Linked DNA regions of Homo sapiens: region 1 is linked to region 2. Evidence: promoter capture Hi-C in human tissues and cell types (Jung and others, 2019). All regions are on one chromosome and are shown on one strand. Each heading gives the region's core, a stretch centred on a gene start or on the middle of the fragment in contact. The rest is flanking DNA. Distances are from core to core; before and after follow the strand shown.

What was found. Contacts are between HindIII fragments. The study calls those that stand out against the background at their distance.
Region 1: a contact is called between a fragment that was not itself captured here and the fragment with the promoter of NUP133 in region 2, in 1 of the 25 tissues and cell types used here (spleen).

What each region holds. Positions count from the first base shown.
Region 1 is chr1:229,298,332-229,302,578 of GRCh38, forward strand. It overlaps RAB4A (RAB4A, member RAS oncogene family), which reads left to right. Exons shown (of 8, transcript NM_004578.4): 6 at 646-741. Among named protein-coding and RNA genes, the nearest start is that of RAB4A-AS1, 29 kb to the left of the region's middle. The HindIII fragment of the contact is 5,464 bases long and covers 1-4,247 here.
Region 2 is chr1:229,507,029-229,511,297 of GRCh38, forward strand. It overlaps NUP133 (nucleoporin 133), which reads right to left and starts at 1,313. Exons shown (of 26, transcript NM_018230.3): 1 at 1,040-1,313. The coding sequence starts at 1,221. It overlaps NUP133-DT (NUP133 divergent transcript), which reads left to right and starts at 1,402. Exons shown (of 3, transcript NR_110630.1): 1 at 1,402-1,651; 2 at 3,096-3,212. RefSeq lists silencers at 1,004-1,233, 2,174-2,468 and an enhancer at 1,284-1,403. The HindIII fragment of the contact is 14,911 bases long and covers 1-4,269 here.

The sequences.
Region 1 (4,247 bases), core at 1,027-3,526, 210 kb before region 2:
AAAAAGCTGTTTAGAAATCAGAAGTTTAGAATGTTAACAAAGATGAAAAGGAATTTAGATGTCATCTAAACTCATTTTTACAAGTGAGGATACAAGAGGCTAGAGAGGCCATGGTTTGCTGAGAGAGCAAGCAGAACAGGCCTTTCTGCTGAGATGAACAGCCACTCTGGTGGGTAGAAAGAGTATTAATTCCTATACTGTCTCTTCATGGGCTGTATGACAGATTGCAATATAGTCCCCTAAAAAGTGTAAACACTTGTAGGTCATATTTGTGGTGACACTCAGATTGTTTGAAGAAGGACATTGCAACTTTCCCTGAAATCAATGGCAGGGCCATTTTGGCAAGCCAGCTCCTTTCTGATGGGCTGTCATTTGGCTGGGGAAGCCTGGTTGCTTGCTCAGCCCCTTCACCAGGTTAAGTGCTAGCACAAGATAGCAGTTACTTTTCAGAAAAGGCTAAAATTCTTTTAACATTTAAAAAACACATAATGACATATATTGATTTTATATTTACAGAAATATATGGTTTTAGGTCATAAATTATATTTCGTCTGCTTTTCTAAGAGAATGCTACACAGGCTTTTGTAAGTGAAAATTATGATCATCTTCTAAACATGACTTTATTTTGTTTGATGTCCATTTTAGAGCTGATGTTTTTGGAAACAAGTGCGCTCACAGGGGAGAATGTAGAAGAGGCTTTTGTACAGTGTGCAAGAAAAATACTTAACAAAATCGAATCAGGTAAAAGCCTTTCCATTAAGCAACTTTTCTTCTGCATATTTTACACTGTAGCTCAGTAGATCACCTTTTAATTAATAGTTTCAGGGTGATTTAGTAAAGAATGTTCTCTCTCTACCTGCCAACCTAAAATCATCACATATGGGTTCAAAGGTCCTGTTCTTATCAGGATGAAAGCCCCATCCTTATCAGGATGGTTTCCATGGTGATGAAAGTGGATGGGCACACCAGCTCAGCTGTGGAAAGGTAGTCAAGGTTTCAGGGAGTGTTTGCATTTAGAACCATAGTCTTTCTTTGGTCCTTCACTAAACGGAGGAAGAATAGGCCTTTGTCCACTCTGTCAACAGCACGCTAATTCTGTTGGGCCAGTGGTCATGTGTAAGGGAGTTATAGGTACATGGTATAGTGTTGATTGTTGCAGATCGGGCATCATGGAACTATGGAGTCCAGAGTAATTTTATTTCTGAAGCTTACTGAGCATGCCTCAATTATAAAATGCCTCATTTTTGTATTTGCTTATTAAAATAATTTAAAATAATCCTAATGTAGGCAGCTGACGAAATACTGTGTAGTTGTCATTTACTAAAGTAACTATATATGGGCATCACCTTTTAATTGATTCATTCAAACATCTGAGTGCCTATTTGTCAGATGCTGGGATACAAAAATGAATAAATCACACCCCTTGCCCCCCAAGAAACTGTCTTTCATGGGAGACAGTCAGAGGATAATTATAATATCACAAGGCTGATGTAGTAGCTGAGAGATGCACAGGCTCAGGGTAACGTGAAGAAGGGGACCTGCCCCAGCCAGAGGATAGAGGAGGTGTCAGGGAGGGCTTTCAGGGGAGGTCTTAGATGAGCTCAGTCTTTCAGAATATAAGGAAGAGTGAGCCAGCAAAGGGAGTGAGGAAGAGGGAATAGCAGGAGAAAAGGTTGAAGAAAGGCAGGAGCCAGCCAGTCCTCATCAAGGATCTAGAACTTTATCTTGTAGATTACCAATTGTCAACCCTGGATGAGCACTAGAGACACTGAGATGCATTAAAAGTTCTAATCCCAGGCTCTGCCTCTGGAGACGCTGAACTAATTGGGCTGAAGTATGGTCGAGGCACCAGTGTTTTTAAATGTTTACTCATGCTGTTCTAATGTTCATCCAAGATTGAGAACCACTGCTGTAGGTGGTGGGTTGTCAGCAGGTGGGTGATGTGATTGGGTTGTGACTTGAGATAAGTCATGTATGTAGGAGGTTATGTTGAAAACAAACTGAAGGGAGGACAGGCCTGGAGGCCAGGATACCAATTATAAGGCATTTTTGAGTAATCCTAGTAAGAGATGACTGATTAATGCTTTAACAAGGATATGGAAGCAGAGATGGAGAGAGAGATGGATCTAAGATATATTTAGGCAGTAGCATCTTATGACTCATATGCCCAATAGTGGGACAGGACAACTGACTCTTAGGTGGGACAAGGTGAGGAGGAAGGGCCAGCAGGGGAGGAGGAACCAAGGATGACTCGCAGCTGTCACACTGGTGTCTCTAGACAGAGATGGGGTGGAGCCAGAGGAGAAGCAGGGAATGTGAGGGAGTAAAGATGGCTCTGTTGCAAATGTGCGGCCTTTGCGGTAACGCTGAGACATGAACATGGAGTTATCTAGTAAGCTTGGGGAAGAGTTCCTGGCTGGCAGTATAAGTTTGGGAACCATCAATATATAGGAACAGCTAAAACTGTGGAAGCAATGTGATCGTCCGGAGAACAGTGTTTAAGGAGAGCAGTGATCAACAGAACCCTGGAGTTGGAGGATGAGCAGAGGAAGAGGAATCTACAAAAAAGATGAAAAAGGAAATGGTCGGAAATGTGTGAAGAAAATCAAGGGAATGTGGGTGTCACTTAAGCCCTAATTATAAGCAAATCAAAGGAGTGTTCATTATGTAATGTAATAGTAACAGAGGGAAGCCTCATAAGCTAAGACTGAGCTGAAAAACACACATTGGGATGGGGAATAGAAAGTCAGTGATCATTTTGATCAAGAACAATTTCAGCAGAATTATGAAGGTAGAAGATGGCTGGCCGTCCGTTAGGAAGAAGTAGGAGGTGAGCAAGCAGAGTGTCCACTCCTCTCCTGAGGAAGCACAGGCTGGCACTGTAGGGTGCAAAGGGTTAATTTAAAGCTGGGGTTGTGGGTGATGGGAGAAATTCCAGCATGTTTAAATGCTGAGGGGGAAGGAGAGAAGAATGGGCAAGGAGAGGGCAGGGAAGAAGGAGGGTGCTAGGTGAAGTAGGAGGGAGGAGAGTCGGGCCCAGGTAGAAGGGCTGGGTTTCAACAGAAGTGGACATGTCATCTTTTTGTATTTTTTTTTATCAGAAAGAAAAAAAAATTACTAAGCTTGGTACAAAAACCAAGACACTGTTACATAAATCCTTACAGTTGGCTTACTGTTGAGTATTATTAAGCTCAGCATGAGGTTGTATTTACATGACCTTGCTATTTTAATATTGTATCCCTGAATGCATCAGATAGAACAACTCATATGCAGTCTTCCAAGATGTGTTTTTTTCTGAGATCATCAAAATCATAAGTACCTCTAGGTGAAAAAAATATAAGAGTATAAATTAGGATTCTTCAGCAGTACTTTTTATTTTTTTAATGGGTAATACATTCAGAAACCATTGTTTTCTTCCCTTTTTTTATATAAAATGTATCATATGATAGACTACCACGCCTTGCTTTTTTACTTACTATTGTATAACCTACAAATCATTACAAATCAGCTTATAGTTTCCGTATATACATATAATACATAAGGTACATATATATAACATAATGTCATACATAATGTGTGTGTGTAATGTGTAATATGGGTTGAGTATCCCTAATCCAAAATGTTCCAAAATCTGAAACTTTTTAATTGCCAACATTGCCACTGAAAGGAAATGCTCATTGGAGCACTTCAAATTTCAGATTTTCAGATTAGGGATGCTGAACTGGTAAGTATAATGGAAATATTTCAAAATCTGAAAAAATCCAAAATACTTCTGGTTTCAAGTATTTTGGATAAGGACTGCTCAACCTATATTTGGATAAGGACCGCTCAACCTATGTGTTACCATAATTCATGAGCCAGTCTACTTTGGACATTTGGGTTGTTGCCAGTATTTTGCTATTATAAGTAATGTTACAGTAAATAATTATATATATATATATATATATATATATATATATATATATATATATATATATATTTTTTTTTTTTTTTTACATGTGCATGAGTCTGTGTGTCAGACAAATGCCCAGAAGTGGAATTGCTGGGTCAGAGAACATAAGCATTTGGGATCTTGGTGTAGAGGCTGTCACATTTTCTCCTAGTGATGGGCTTATTTCACTAAAGCCATGTCCACAGCATGTAGTATCATCATACTTGGACTTTTGGCCCATCTAATAAGTGAAAAATTATATCTTTGTAATTTAATTTTAAATTATTTTATATAAATAATGTATTCACATAATTTG
Region 2 (4,269 bases), core at 63-2,562:
CACATACAGAAGGGCTAAGGGCTTTGTTTCCTGACAGAGGATAACAAAGGTTTTTCTTCAAATGATCACAAGAAGAGATTTAAATAAAACAACACACAGTAAATAAAGTATGCTTTTATTCTCCAACTTTTCGCAAAAGGAATAGAAAACACTGACAAGATCAGCACTTTGAAAAGAACTTTTCAAAATATGCCAAAAAAAGTCAAAGATACAGTGTATTCTTTCAAAACCACTTCTCCTTTAAAGTACTGAAAAATTTTACAGATAAATTTTAACCATAATTTCAAGACACAATACTTTGTGTTTCCTGCAGGGAAAAATTCATTTTTTATAGATGAATTCAGAGAAAACTATGCAGAAACACTAAAGTTTTAGGTTAATTATGAACATGGTGTGTGTTGGGGGTGGGGAGGGGTGTGTGTGTGTGATGATTTTACTGGTGCTCCAAACGAGCAGTTTTAGTAACTAAACTATCACAGTACTCTTAGCTCACTTATGTAAAGCCTTTTCCTTATAATTTACCTAGAAAGTTAAATTCCGTAGCTAGAAACCCTTTAATTACCAATCATCAGATATTAATGTCAGTTGGTATGTTAGGCATTAAACAATGATCTTTCAGGGTTGTAGGTCCTCATTATCACCATCACCTTACATCTGCATCGTGGCAATTCATAATAACTCCTCTGGCTCAGGTGAGATATATTATCGCCATTTCACAGATGAAGAAAATCACGAGTGACTTACACCAGATCACACGGGTAGTAGGTGGGAAGTAGGTAAACACTGATGCAAATCCAGTTTGTACTTCACTTCTGCACAAAGGTATCCATGAAAAATGCAAAGTGGGGAATCAACTGATCAACTGATAATCAAAACGAAGCAGATACTACCTGCAGCAGTGGAAAAGGTCTATTTTCCAATACTGTGGCATTCTATTCCGCCGCCCCGGTTCCAAAGGCTTCTAAAGACAACAACCTATCCGGCCCACTGCGGCCCGTGAGGCTGTTGGTTGCCAGACCCAACCAGGGAGATCACTTACCGCGAGCTTAGCGAGCTACGCCGGCCGACCGGCGAGAAGAGCACTGGGGAGCTGACTGCAGACCCCAGGGGCAGACCCTTCCTGCTAGCCGTCCGGGGCGTGGAGCCGGGCCCGAGTCCGGCCAGCGGGCCCCTTCGGGACCCGGTACCCGGGGTCCGCGGAGAAGGGGCGGCTGGGAACATGACTCCAAGGAGCAGCGACTAGGACAGCGAGGGATCTGGCCGTCAGGTTGCAGCCTGGCCTGCGCGCGGAACTTAAACACCTAAGGGAAGAGATGGCGCGCGATGATGACGTCAAACGCAATGGCTCCCGCGGGTTGTGGTCGGAGCGCTGGCGGGGGCGGGATCGTGACGTTAAGGGCGGTGCCCAGTCAGCGAGGTAGGTCGGGAAGGCAGCCGGCGGCCCCAGATCTAGAACCGCTGCAGTGCCGAGCTTCCAGGGACGTGAAGCCGGAAAGCCAGGCGCCCTTCTTGACTGCGCCTAGGTGGAACTGGCCCTCCAGCAGCTTGAACGTAGCCTCTTTTCACACTGGTAGTTCCTGAACCTCTTGTGAAATGAAAGATGTTCCTCATTCCAAGCTGAGGACGGAGAAAAGCCGTAAAGCTGACACTGGTATCGCACTGTGATATTTGTTGTTTTCTAGGTTTGCCATTTTCCCATTCAACTTTGCGCAGTCTCATCCACGCTGATGACGCCACAAATCCGTGTCTCTAACCTGGATCCAGCTCAAAACCCCCAGACCCCTATCATTCAGCTCCCTAGGGGACAATTTCAGCTGGAAGTCCTGCGAACTCCTCACAATCCACTTATGAAAAGCGCATTCATGTTTTCCTTTAGGACCCCTCTCCTACCACCATCTCTGTTCCAGCTTGGTAAAACTGGCCAGTTGTCCAAGGCAAAGAGAAGAGCTCTATCTGCAGTCATCCCTCACACCTACCTCCACCCTAAGATCATGGTATACGTTGTAAGGTCCTACGTGTCTGTACTAGATCACACATTTGCACTGCCTCTGCCCTGGTTCTGGTACTTACCTTTCCCTCAACCACTGCGTAGCCTCTTCTGCCAGCGGGAGGGAGTAGGGGAGATGGGGAGAGGGTTCCTTACCTGTGTCTAGTCTTCCTCCACTCTATCTTCTCACTGCCAACACAATGAATTAAGGCAAACGTAATGCTGCTCTTGGGCCTGTAAATGCTTCAGTGGCTGACCATTGCCAGTAGGTTATTTGCTAAGCTCCTTTGCAAGGTCCTATGTGATCTAAGTCAGGTTGGCTTTTCCGTCCGTGTTGTACTTCCAGCACTTCCCACTTGCACTCCACATTCCGAGAACTTAAAAACCCAAATCTCCCTCCAGTGCCCATGTCCATGTTTCTCTCACCTGGAATGCACTCCCTGCCTTGTTGGTCCAGAAGGCGCCTACCTTCCGCATCAAGTTAGTTCTGTGCTGCCTTCTCAGTGAAACCTTCCACAGGATTAGGTCCCCCTTATCCTTTGTCCTCTCTGCTCCTGTGTGTAGACTGTATTTTTATCCTGCATAATAGTTTGTTTTCATAATTGTCTGTCAAGTACTTCCTTTTAAATGTCTTGACAGCAAGAGCAGTGACTTTGTTACCTTTGTGGCACACAGTAACAGACACATAGTAGACTTTCATTCAACGTGTGTTGAAATAAGGGAATGGTTAAGTAAACATTGACGTATTCACATGTGGGAGACCACAGTGTGGGTGTCAGTTGTTGACATTCCCCTGGGAAGCCAGTCATCTATCTATGCACCAGTGGCATCTGAGCAGTCATCTTGCCAAGGTTACATAGGCTAGCTGCTTTACTCCTTCTCCCACCTGGGTGTCTAACCCAACTTGGCAGCTTGTTGAGTCTTATAGCTCTGAGAGCCCAGTGCATTTCCTCCCTGTTTCATTCTTACAAGGAGGGGTGTGAAATAGGCAATAGAGAGTATTAATAGTTGTGTCTGAGAGGATTGGTGGGATCAATTTTATTCTTGTGCTTTGTTGGACTGGTTAGTGGTTTCCCCAGCATCCTAATGTAAAAGCTGTTGTTTGCAGGAGCTAGAATGACTTGTCAGCCACCTTTGAGCAAGAACTTGCCTGGAGTCCAAATGTATGGCTATTGAAGGATAGTAAGCAGACAGCACTAAAAGTCATCCATTCGTTATGGATTTAGTGAGTACCTACCATGTGCCAGGCTATGTGATAATTGCTAAGGCTTATAACTAAACAAAGCCCATGGGTCCTACCCTCATGGAGATTACAGACCAATGAGAAAGACAGACACTGAAAAAATGAACACAAATATCCAGCTACAAGCTGAGATGTGTACTATGAAATAAAAGAGCAAAGTGTATGAGAGAGAATCACTGGGGCTACCTATTTTTGCATGGAGGTCTATAAAGGTCTCTGGGAGAAAAGGACGTTTAACCTGAGACATGAAGCATAAGAGAATAGGAGGAAGAATGTTTCAGGCAGAGGATCCTTGGCCAAAGGTCCTGAAGCAGCAAAGGACTTGGTGCATTCTAGGAACTTTATTTATTCTTATTTTACTTTATGATTTTTCTAGAGATTGGGTCTTACTCTGTTGCTCAGGCTGGAGTGCAGTGGCGTGATCAAAGCTCACCACATCCTTAACCTTCTGGGCTTCAGTGATCCTCCTGCCTCAGCCTCTGAGTTGGGACCATGGGCATGTACCACCACACCTGCCTATTTTTTATTTATATATATATTTTTAGAAATGGGGTCTCACGGCCAGGCATAGTGGCTCACGTCTCTAATCCCGGCACCTTGCAAGGCTAAGGTGTGGGAGGATGGCTTGAGGCTAGTAGTTCAAGACCAGCCCCTGGGCAACATAGCAAGACCCTGTCTCCCCAAGAAATTTTATTTTAAATTCTAAAAAAAATACAATTAAAAAATGGGGTCTTGCTATATTTCCCAGGCTGGTCTCAAACTCCGGGTCTTAAGTGATCCTCAAGCCTCAGCCTTCTGAGTAGCTGGGATTAGAGCCAGAGACTTTAAACAAACAAATCAACCTGAAAGACTAAAAGTAAAGGGAATTGGAGAAATAAGGAGAGACCATGAAGGGCCTTGTAGGCTCTGTCAAATAAGATCCTAGAGAAGGCCAGGCGTGGTGGCTCACACCTGTAATTCCAGCACTTTGGGAGGCCCAGGCAGGTGGATTGCCTGAGGTCAGGAGTTCAAGACCAGTTTGGCTAACATGATGAAACCC